Regions from separate parts of the Homo sapiens genome. Here region 2 is linked to region 1. The links are contacts of gene promoters, found by promoter capture Hi-C in blood cells and fetal thymus (Javierre and others, 2016). All regions are on one chromosome and are shown on one strand. The core of a region is centred on a gene start or on the middle of the fragment in contact, and the rest is flanking DNA. Distances in the headings are between cores, read along the strand shown. Region 1 holds the start of S1PR5 (sphingosine-1-phosphate receptor 5). Region 2 holds the start of TYK2 (tyrosine kinase 2).

What was found. The method cuts DNA at HindIII sites, captures the fragments that hold promoters and counts their contacts. A CHiCAGO score of 5 or more calls a contact.
Region 2: a contact is called between the fragment with the promoter of TYK2 here and the fragment with the promoter of S1PR5 in region 1, in 5 of 17 cell types (non-activated CD4 T cells, naive CD8 T cells, fetal thymus and 2 more). The highest score is 8.5, in non-activated CD4 T cells.

The regions. Positions count from the first base shown.
Region 1 is chr19:10,515,206-10,519,827 of GRCh38, reverse strand. It overlaps S1PR5 (sphingosine-1-phosphate receptor 5), which reads left to right and starts at 2,381. Exons shown (of 2, transcript NM_030760.5): 1 at 2,381-2,430. RefSeq lists enhancers at 474-1,036, 3,904-4,497, 4,498-4,622. The HindIII fragment of the contact is 9,669 bases long and covers 1-3,563 here.
Region 2 is chr19:10,378,059-10,382,680 of GRCh38, reverse strand. TYK2 (tyrosine kinase 2) reads left to right here and starts at 2,109. Exons shown (of 25, transcript NM_003331.5): 1 at 2,109-2,301; 2 at 2,902-3,066; 3 at 4,255-4,467. The coding sequence starts at 4,275. RefSeq lists enhancers at 1,480-2,143, 2,052-2,211. The HindIII fragment of the contact is 15,548 bases long and covers 1-4,622 here.

The DNA.
Region 1 (4,622 bases), core at 1,132-3,631:
GGCAGGAGAATTGCTTGAAGCCAGGAGGCGGAGGTTGCAGAGGCGAAGTTTGCAGTGAGCCCAAATCGCACCACTGCACTCCAGCCTGGGCAATAAAGGGAGATTACAAAAAAAAAAAAAAAGCAAAAGCAAGGTGATTTCAGATAATGCCAACTGCCATTTGAGATGAGGGACAGATCAGGGAAGGTCTCTCTGAGGAGGTGACCAGCTGACCAGCTGGGAAGGGGTGGGGAGAAGGGTGCTCCAGGCCACCTGGCCCCCAAGTTCAAAAGTCTTGAAGTGTGTGTGGAACTCGGAGGAGCCCGGGAGGCAGAAGCAGAGTGGAGCAGAGAGAGGCACAGAAGTAACAGAAAGAGACAAATCAGGACGGCATATGGCCTTGTCCTTGCGGGGTCCTCACTGAGGACTTGATCACTTACTCTGAGAAACACAGGGAGCCACGGGAGGGTTTGGAGCAGAAAAGAAATGTGATCTGAGTTTTAAGAACTGTGGCCAGGAGTGTGGAGTGGCAGCTAGGGATGGGACTCCCAACATCTGTCGAGATCCTGGAGCCTGAGTCCCCAGGGTCCCAATTCGTGGGAAAGAAGTTCAGGGAGGCAGCTGGAGAGGCAGGTTGCTGAGCCCGGGACCCGCAGCCGGAAGAGCCCCATTTTCGAGAGAAGTGAGATTGGCGCCTGGGAGGTGTGAAGCAGCCACCTCCCCACCCTGGGGCGCGGCTTCCCCTTTACAGAAGGAGGTCATTTATTGAGCACCTACTGGGTGCCAGCCACAGCCATGCTGGGAGATCTTCAGGGGTCATCCCAGTGGGCACCATTGGAGTTGGCTTGGTCCACAGGACTGGGGAACCTGGCACTGAAGGGTTAACACCGTCCCACCCTGCGGGTCCCATTGGCTGTGTCTTTGAGCAGAGCAGGCAGGAAAGGTTCTGCCCACCGAGGGAACAGCGGGGGCAGGAGGGCTGGGATCCCCAAGGGGCTACATGGGGGCCTGACCCGGCCTGAGTGCCCCCTGAGTTTCCTCCCACGAGGGTATCCCGGATCCACACTTATTCTCAGCCTCTGGCTCATCTCTCCTGGGGCGCCCTCACCCCACCCGCGGCCAGCAGGGCCTGAAGCATCAGGGGCAAAGGGCACGGTCCTGGAGAAGGTCGCAGCAGCGGGACCCAGCCTCCCTTCCTGAATCTGAGGGTGGAAGAGCTGGGACCGTCTGGAAGTTCCTGGGAAGTCGGGGTGGGGGCGTTTCGGGGCCAGCGGGACTGGTCGTTGGAGGAGCAGTGGCCTGGGAGAGGCGTGGGAGAGCATCACAGACAGCAACAAAGAGACACGCAGAGGCAAAGAGACACGCAGAGACAAAGAGACACGCAGGCGAGAGACTCTGAGATCCTCCTGAGAGAGATACAGAGGAAGTGAGGGAGACACTCATTCATTATCTGGGCATGGTTGCAAGCGACTGGAGTCCCAGCAGCTACGTTCAGCCGGCTGAGATGGGAGGATGGCTTGAGCCGCGGAGGTCGAGACTGCAGTGACTTATGATGTTGCCACTGCACTCCACTCTGGGCCACAGAGCAAGATCTTGTCTCAAAAAAAAAAAAAAAAAAGAAATTCTTACATTGCTGGGGTTTACTGTCTGCTAAGGACACAGCCCAGAAACACCATTAATGAGTAAATCACTTTGTCGTCAGCGATAAGGGTGGGAGAGAATCGGTCGGGGGAACACGGAATCCAGGGGGTGGGACAGGAGAGACCCTCCTTATCTGAGGAGCGGCAAGTTCCCATCACAATCCTGCCCGGGCCCGCCCCACCCCCACTCGCCCTGAGCCGGGGGCGGGAGCGGGAAATTGGGAGGGGCCTGTGCCCGGGAGCAGCGGGAACCTATCTGCTGGTGGGAGAGGACTCAGGCTAAGGTGGCCCCCACTGAAGACTCCTGCTAAGCAACCCACTGAAGACCCCTCCGAATCATCGACGGGGCGTCCTTGGGGTGCAGCCCAGGAAGCTCAGTTCACAGGTGGGTGGGCAATGGGAGGGCGCAGTGCCCGGACACCCAGGACAGAGGAGACCCCTCCGCTGGGGAGAAGAGGCTCAGGCTGCGACCGCCCTGCTGCAGAACCCTCCCTTTCCCGCCTCTCCGAGTCCTCCCACCGCGATGGAGCGTCCCTGGGAGGACAGCCCAGGCCCGGAGGGGGCAGCTGAGGGCTCGCCTGTGCCAGTCGCCGCCGGGGCGCGCTCCGGTGCCGCGGCGAGTGGCACAGGCTGGCAGCCATGGGCTGAGTGCCCGGGACCCAAGGGGAGGGGGCAACTGCTGGCGACCGCCGGCCCTTTGCGTCGCTGGCCCGCCCCCTCGCCTGCCAGCTCCAGCCCCGCCCCCGGAGCGGCGTCCGCTCACTCGGTTCAAGGCAGCGCGACTGCGGGTGGCGCACGACCAGGGCGCAGAGTGAGTGGACTGCACTGGACCTTTGGGGGCGCTGGGCTGGGCCTGACCCGGAGGGGGTCGCCCTGGCGGCCACTTTCCCGGTCTAAAAAGGCGCACCACTCCTTGCAGGGAGTTCTCCGAACTTTTCCTGGAGGCCTCTGGGGAGGGGGAAGCTGGGGGCTCCCCAGCTGGGTGCAGGACCTGGGATACGGGGTGAAGGTGGCTGGAATCCCCTGGCCACCCCCTCCTGGCCGGGCCACTGCAAGTTTCCATACTTCAGTCCTGCTGCCGGGCAAGCTGGGCGGATGGGGTTGGCCTCCCCCTCAGAGCATGTGTAACCCTGTCTCCCTGTATTTGGGCTCCCCACCTCCAGCATGGGTGAGCCAGCGACTTCCTGTCTATGTTTGCCTGCCTTGATTCTCTGTGTGTGACTGAAGCTCTCTGGGATGTCCGCATCCCTGCCTTGTGCAAAAGAGATCCATTCCCCTCCCCAGGCCTTGGCTTTCTCATCTGGACTTGCATGGGGACTATTTGTGCATGGATGTTTGTGTGGGAGCATGGAAACCTTTGCGCCTGCTTCGATACGAAGCATTTCTTTTGAGCTTCAGTTTTCTCATCTGTAAATTAGGACTAAAGGAAGTGGGGATTAATAAGGTCACAGAGGCAGGTGAGGAGTGTTATTACAGTTTAATGACATGTGTGCCCCTCTGTAAGAGTCTGTTTGCCTCTTGTGGATTCTCTCTCCTGTCCTCAGGCTCTGCCTTAGTAAAATGAGTGAATAGGATCAACTTTTTTTTTTTTTTTTTTTTTTGAGACGGAGTTTCTCTCTTGTCACCCAGGCTGGAGAGCAGGGGTGCGATCATGGCTCACTGCAGCCTCGGCCTCCCAGGCTCAAGTGATCCTCCCGCCTCAGTCTCTTGAGTAGCTGGGACTATAGGGGCATAACACCACACCTGGCTAATTTTTAAATTTTTTTGTAGAGATGAAGTCTTAGTATGTTGCCCAAGCTGGTGTCGAACTCCTGGGCTCAAGTGATACTCCCACCTCGGCCTCCCAAAGTGCTGGGATTACAGGCGAAAGCCACTGTGCCTGGCCAAGGAGCAACTTTCTCATGGGGTTTTGGGTGGATGAGGGGGTTTTGGCAGGAAAAAGCTTTGTATGCAGTGAGACAAGAGTGTGGAGTGTGGTGCACTGGGCCCCAGGCTAGTGTGAGTGGAGGTTGTGAAATTGTGGCCTGTGCCACTGGGTGGGAGACCCTGTATTCGTGTGACTGAATTTTGGTCGCTGTGTTTTTCTGCCTGCGTCACTCTGTTCCTGTATGATGTATTTTTTAGTTTCCCTGATAGTGTGTGACTGTGTGTTTTGCCCTTGTAGTGTGTCGCTGTATTTGTGTGTCTCTTTCTGTGTGTGTTGCGTTTGTGTGCGTTCTGTGTGTTTACTGTTACGTCTCTGGAACTCCCTGCTTGTGTGTTTGTGTGTGTGTGTTTGAGACAAAGTCTTGCTCTGTTGTCCTGGCTGGAGTACAGTGGCACAATCAATGCTCACTGACTGCAGCCTTGACCCCGCGGGCTCAAGTGATCCTCTCACCTCAGCTGGGACTCCACTGAGTAGCTTGGACTATAGGCATACACCAACACGTCCCGGCTAATTTTTGTAGAAACGGGGTTCTCCTATGTTGTCCAGGCTAATCTCGAACTCCTGGGCCTCAAACAATCCTCCCGCCTCAGCCTCCCAAAGTGCTGGAATTACAGGAGTGAGCCACCACACCCAGCCGTGTGTGTGTTTGGTGGGGAGGGGGGGTGTTTTGAGACAGAGTCTCGCTCTGCCACCTAGGTTGGAGTGCAGTGATGCGATCTCGGCTCACTGCAACCTCCGCCTCCTGGGTTCAAATGATTCTTCTGCCTCAGCCTCTGGAGTAGCTGGGACTACAGGCACGTGCCACCATGCCTGGCTAATTTTTTGTGTTTTTAGCAGAGACGGAGGGGTTCACCGTGTTAGCCAGGATGGTCTCGATCTCCTGACCTCGTGATCTGCCCCCCTTGGCCTCCCAGGCCTGAGCCACTGCCTCAGGCCTGAGCCTGGGGGGATTACAGGCGGGGATTACAGGCCTGAGCCACCGCGCCCAGCCATGTGTGAACCACCGCGCCCAGCCATTCATGTGTTATTAATGTCCCTTTTTTTGGGACTATGTCACCTTGTTCCCTCGTGATATT
Region 2 (4,622 bases), core at 860-3,359, 140 kb after region 1:
TATTTTATTTTTGAGACAGAGTCTCACTCTGGCGCCCAGGCTGGAGTGCAGTGGCGCAATCTCGGCTCACTGCAAGCTCCGCCTCCCCGGTTCACGCCATTCTCCTGCCTCAGGCTGCCACTACGCCCAGCTAATTGTTTGTATTTTTAGTAGAGACGGGGTTTCACCGCCTTAGCCAGGATGGTCTCGATTTCCTGACCTCATGATCCGCCCACCTCGGCCTCCCAAAGTGCTGGGATTACAGGCGTGAGCCACTGTGCCCGGCCTCTATCAGCATTTTCTTTCTTTTTCTTTTTCTTTTTTTTTTTTTGAGACAGAGTTTAGCTCTTGTTGCCCAGGCTGAAGGGCAATGGTGTGATCTCGGCTCACTGCAACTTCTGCCTCCCAAGTTCAAGCGATTCTCCTGCCTCAGCCTCCTGAATAGCTGGGATTACAGGTGCCCACCACCATGCCCAGCTAATTTTTGCATTTTTAGTAGAGACAGGGTTTCACCATGTTGGCCAGTCTGGTCTTGAACTCCTGACCTCAGGTGATCCGCCCGCCTCCACCTCCCAAAGTGCTGGGATTACAGGTGTGAAAGAGACCATTCCCGATCTCTTTCAGCATTTTCATACTGAATGTCCACAGCTGCCCTGTGAGGAGGCTTTTTACCCATATTTTCTGACTCAGAGAGAAGCAGCCACATGTCCCTTGGCCATGGCAGTTAAGACCAACTCCATGGAGCTGGGTGTCTTAGCTCACATCTGTAATCCCAGCACTTTGGAAAGCCAAGGCAGGATGATTGCTTGAGGCCAGAAGTTCAAGACCAGCCTGGGCAACATAGCCAGACCCCATCTCTACAAAAATTTAAAAATTAGCCACAAAATTTAAAAATTAACAACAAAAGGGCCGGGTGCGGTGGCTCACGCCTGTAATCCCAGCGCTTTGGGAGGGTGGATCACGAGGTCAGGAGTTCGAGACCAGCCTGGCCAAGATGGTGAAATCCCATCTCTACTAAAAATACAAAAATTAGCCGGGCGTGGTGGCGGGCGCCTGTTGTCCCAGCTACCCAGGAGGCTGAGGCAGGAGAATCGCTTGAATCCGGGAGTCTGAGGTTGCAGTGAGCCGAGATCGCAGCATTGCACTCCAGCCTGGGCGACAAGAGCGAAACTCCATCTTAAAAAAAAAAAAAAAAAAAAGTGGAAGATGAGGAAGTTGATCAGACATCAAGGATGAGCGGATGACTTAATAGGCTTCTTTGCTAAGACTTGGCTGGGCAGGTGAAAGACAAAGTCGAGGAGTGGTTATGGTGTGGCACAGAAGAAGGGTCAGAGGACGGTCTTTGTTACCTCTTCATGCCTGAGTTTCTTCCTCTGTGAAATGGGGATAATAAGAGCCGCCATACAGGGAATTGCTGCTAGGATCAAATGAGATAATGTATGTGAAACGCTCTGGCTGTAGGCTTCTCAGCAAATGGGCACGACTTGCGGAGTGGGGATTTGAATTCACGTCTGGCGGGATGTCCAAGCTGCTACCCTGACCGCTAGGGAGCTTCAGAGGACAGGGCTGCAGGTGATCAGGAAGAGGACTGGGGCAGGTGGGCGAGGAATGCCTCCCAGGAGTGAAGGAGGGGGAATTCTAGTCAGCAGGATGGAGTCGGCCAGGTAGAAACGAGGGAAAGGAGACAGGACCGGATGGAACGGGGAAGCCAAAGGGCAGGGCGTCGGAGGGTTGAATGGTGGCCGGTGCAGCTTTGAACACCGAGGTGAGGACATGCAGCTGTGTCCTAGGGTCAGGACCGTACACGCCTGACCCAATTCCACAGCACGGAGGGGAACTCCAGGATCCGGCCGCGTTGCCCACACACTTCGCTCTCCCTCCCGCCTCTCGCAAGCCCCTCCCCCGTCTCCGTCCACCGAGTGCCAGCCAATAGCAGAAGCGACAGCGCATCTGGGTGCCGACTCAGCCAATCGCGGCTGAGTGACGAATGAGCCCCAGGACCAATGAGAGTGCCGCCACCATGGCAAAAAAAAAAAAATCCAATGGTGACGAGCAGGGAGAACAGAGCAGCTGCCAATGGGCGTGTGCGTTTCAGGCGGCCAATGGGAGGAGGCGTCTCGGCGGGGGACAAGCAGTAGCTACCCGCGGGAGCGGGGAGGGGTCCGGGTTCGAGCTTGTGTTCCCCCGGAAGGGTGAGTCTGGACGCGGGCGCGGAAGGAGCGCGGCCGGAGGTCCTCAGGAAGAAGCCGCGGGGACTGGCTGCGCTTGACAGGCTGCACTTGGATGGGAGCACCTGGTGCCTCGGGACTGCTCCGATGCCCGGTGGGTGCACATCCCAGTTCCCGCCGTTGCCGGCCGGGTTTAGAGGTTTTGGGGGGAGGACATGGGGGCGTGCAGCCTTCCCAGTTGCAAACTTCACTCCGACCCTGTCTTCAAAGCTGGGTCTGGGTCCAGTGGGGACGAGAAAGGAGGAAGGAGGAAGTAGGCTCCGCGAAAGCCCCATCCCCGGGATCTCATCTATAACATGAATAGGTATTAATGGCAAAGGCTAATTAAGCGCTTACTGTATACCAGGCACTTTCTCTGCCTCCTCGCGTTAAATCCTCCCAGCAGCCTTTTGAGGTAGACACTGTTACATGCCCATTTTCCAGATGAGGAAACCAGCAACATGGGTGGAAGTGACAGCCCCTCCACTTCCATACTGGCGCCCTCAGGAGGCTCAGGCCCTGGATTGGGGGGATGGAGCTGGACATAAACTCTCCTAGGCTTTGGGGAGTCAACAGGGACTGAGGTCACTCATGGGGGTAAATGTGGGAGAGGAGAATTGTGGCCTGAAAGAGGCCATCACCACGATGAAACTAATAACAATTATGTTATTCTTGTTTTGGTCATATTTGTTCTTTTTGTGTGTGCCTGAATCAGGGTCTGTGCTGAATGTGTAATATGCGGAACTATATTGAAACATTACAACCATCTTTTGATGGCAACACCCTGAGGACCTCCCTTTTCCAGATGGGGAAACTGAGGCCCAGAATTGCTAAGTGGCTTGCTTGAGTTGACACAGGGAGCTCCAGGACTCACCCTCAGGTATGTTTGACCACATCTGCCTGTCTGGTTATTTTGGGGAGGTGTGTTAAGAGCAGATTTTTATTTTACTTTTTATTTATTTATTTATTTATTTATTTATTTATTTATTGTATTTTAGTAGAGATGGGGTTTCACCATGTTGGTCAAGATGGTCTCAATCTCCAGACCTCGTGATCTGTCCGCCTTGGCCTCCCAAAGTGCTGGGATTACAGTCATGAGCCACCGCGCCTGGCCCTTTTTATATATTTTTATTACTTATTTATTTATTTATTTATTTATATTTTTAGAGTCAGGGTCTCACTCTGTCACCCAGGCTGGAATGCAGTGGTGCGATCACTGCTCACTGCAGCCTCCAACTCCTGGGCTCAGGAGATCCTCCCACTTCAGCCTCCCGAGTAGCTTGGAGTACAGATGTGCACCCCCACGCCTGGCTAAATTTTAAAAATTTCTTGTAGAGGCCGGGCACAGTGGCTCACGCCTGTAATCCCAGCACTTTGGGAGGCCGAGGCGGGTGGATCACCTGAGGTCAGAGGTTCAAGACCAGCCTGGCCAACATGGCAAAACCCTGTCTCTACTAAAAATACAAAAATTAGCCCGGTGTGGTGGCAGGCGCCAGCTACTCAGGAGGCTGAGGCAGGAGAATCACTTAAACCCAGGAGGCAGAGGTTGTGGTGAGCAAGATTGTACCATTGCACTCCAGCCTGGGCAACAAGAGTGAAACTCTGTCTCAAAAATAAGATAAGATAAGATAAGATAAGATAAGATAAGATAAGATAAGATATAAAATAAAACGTCTTGTAGAAACAGGGTCTTGCTATATGGCCTAGGCTGGTCTCGAGCTCCTGGGCTCAAGCAATCCTCTTGCCTCAACATCCCAAAGTCCTGGGATTAGAGGCGTGAGCCACTGTACCTGGCCAGAGCAGATTTTTATATCTGTGTCAATTTGTGGAAAGAGAGGAGGGTTCAGTGTTATTGTTGATGAGAGATCTAGGTGGGGATGCATACCCCAACCCTGTCCAATAAATGTGGAAAACGAGACTCAGAGAGGGAATCGGGTCTCTAATGTCATGCCAAGATGGGAGCCCAGAATCTTCCCCTCAGGCCTTAGCTGGGGTGGGTGGAAGGTTGAAGAGCTAACAGGGGTCTCTGGGCTGAGACTTGGGAGCTGACAGATTGTCCCCTTTCCAGCTGAGCCACCTGCCGGGAGCATGCCTCTGCGCCACTGGGGGATGGCCAGGGGCAGTAAGCCCGTTGGGGATGGAGCCCAGCCCATGGCTGCCATGGGAGGCCTGAAGGTGCTTCTGCACTGGGCTGGTCCAGGCGGCGGGGAGCCCTGGGTCACTTTCAGTGAGTCATCGCTGACAGCTGAGGAAGTCTGCATCCACATTGCACATAAAGTTGGTGAGTCTGGGGCGTTGGCACCATGGGGACTGGGGTGGGTGTGCAAGCAGCAGCTGGGCCCCATCCATCCGTCTATCCACCCACCCACCCATCCACCCACCCATCCACCCACTCATCCATCCATCCATCCATCCACCCATCCACCCACCCATCCA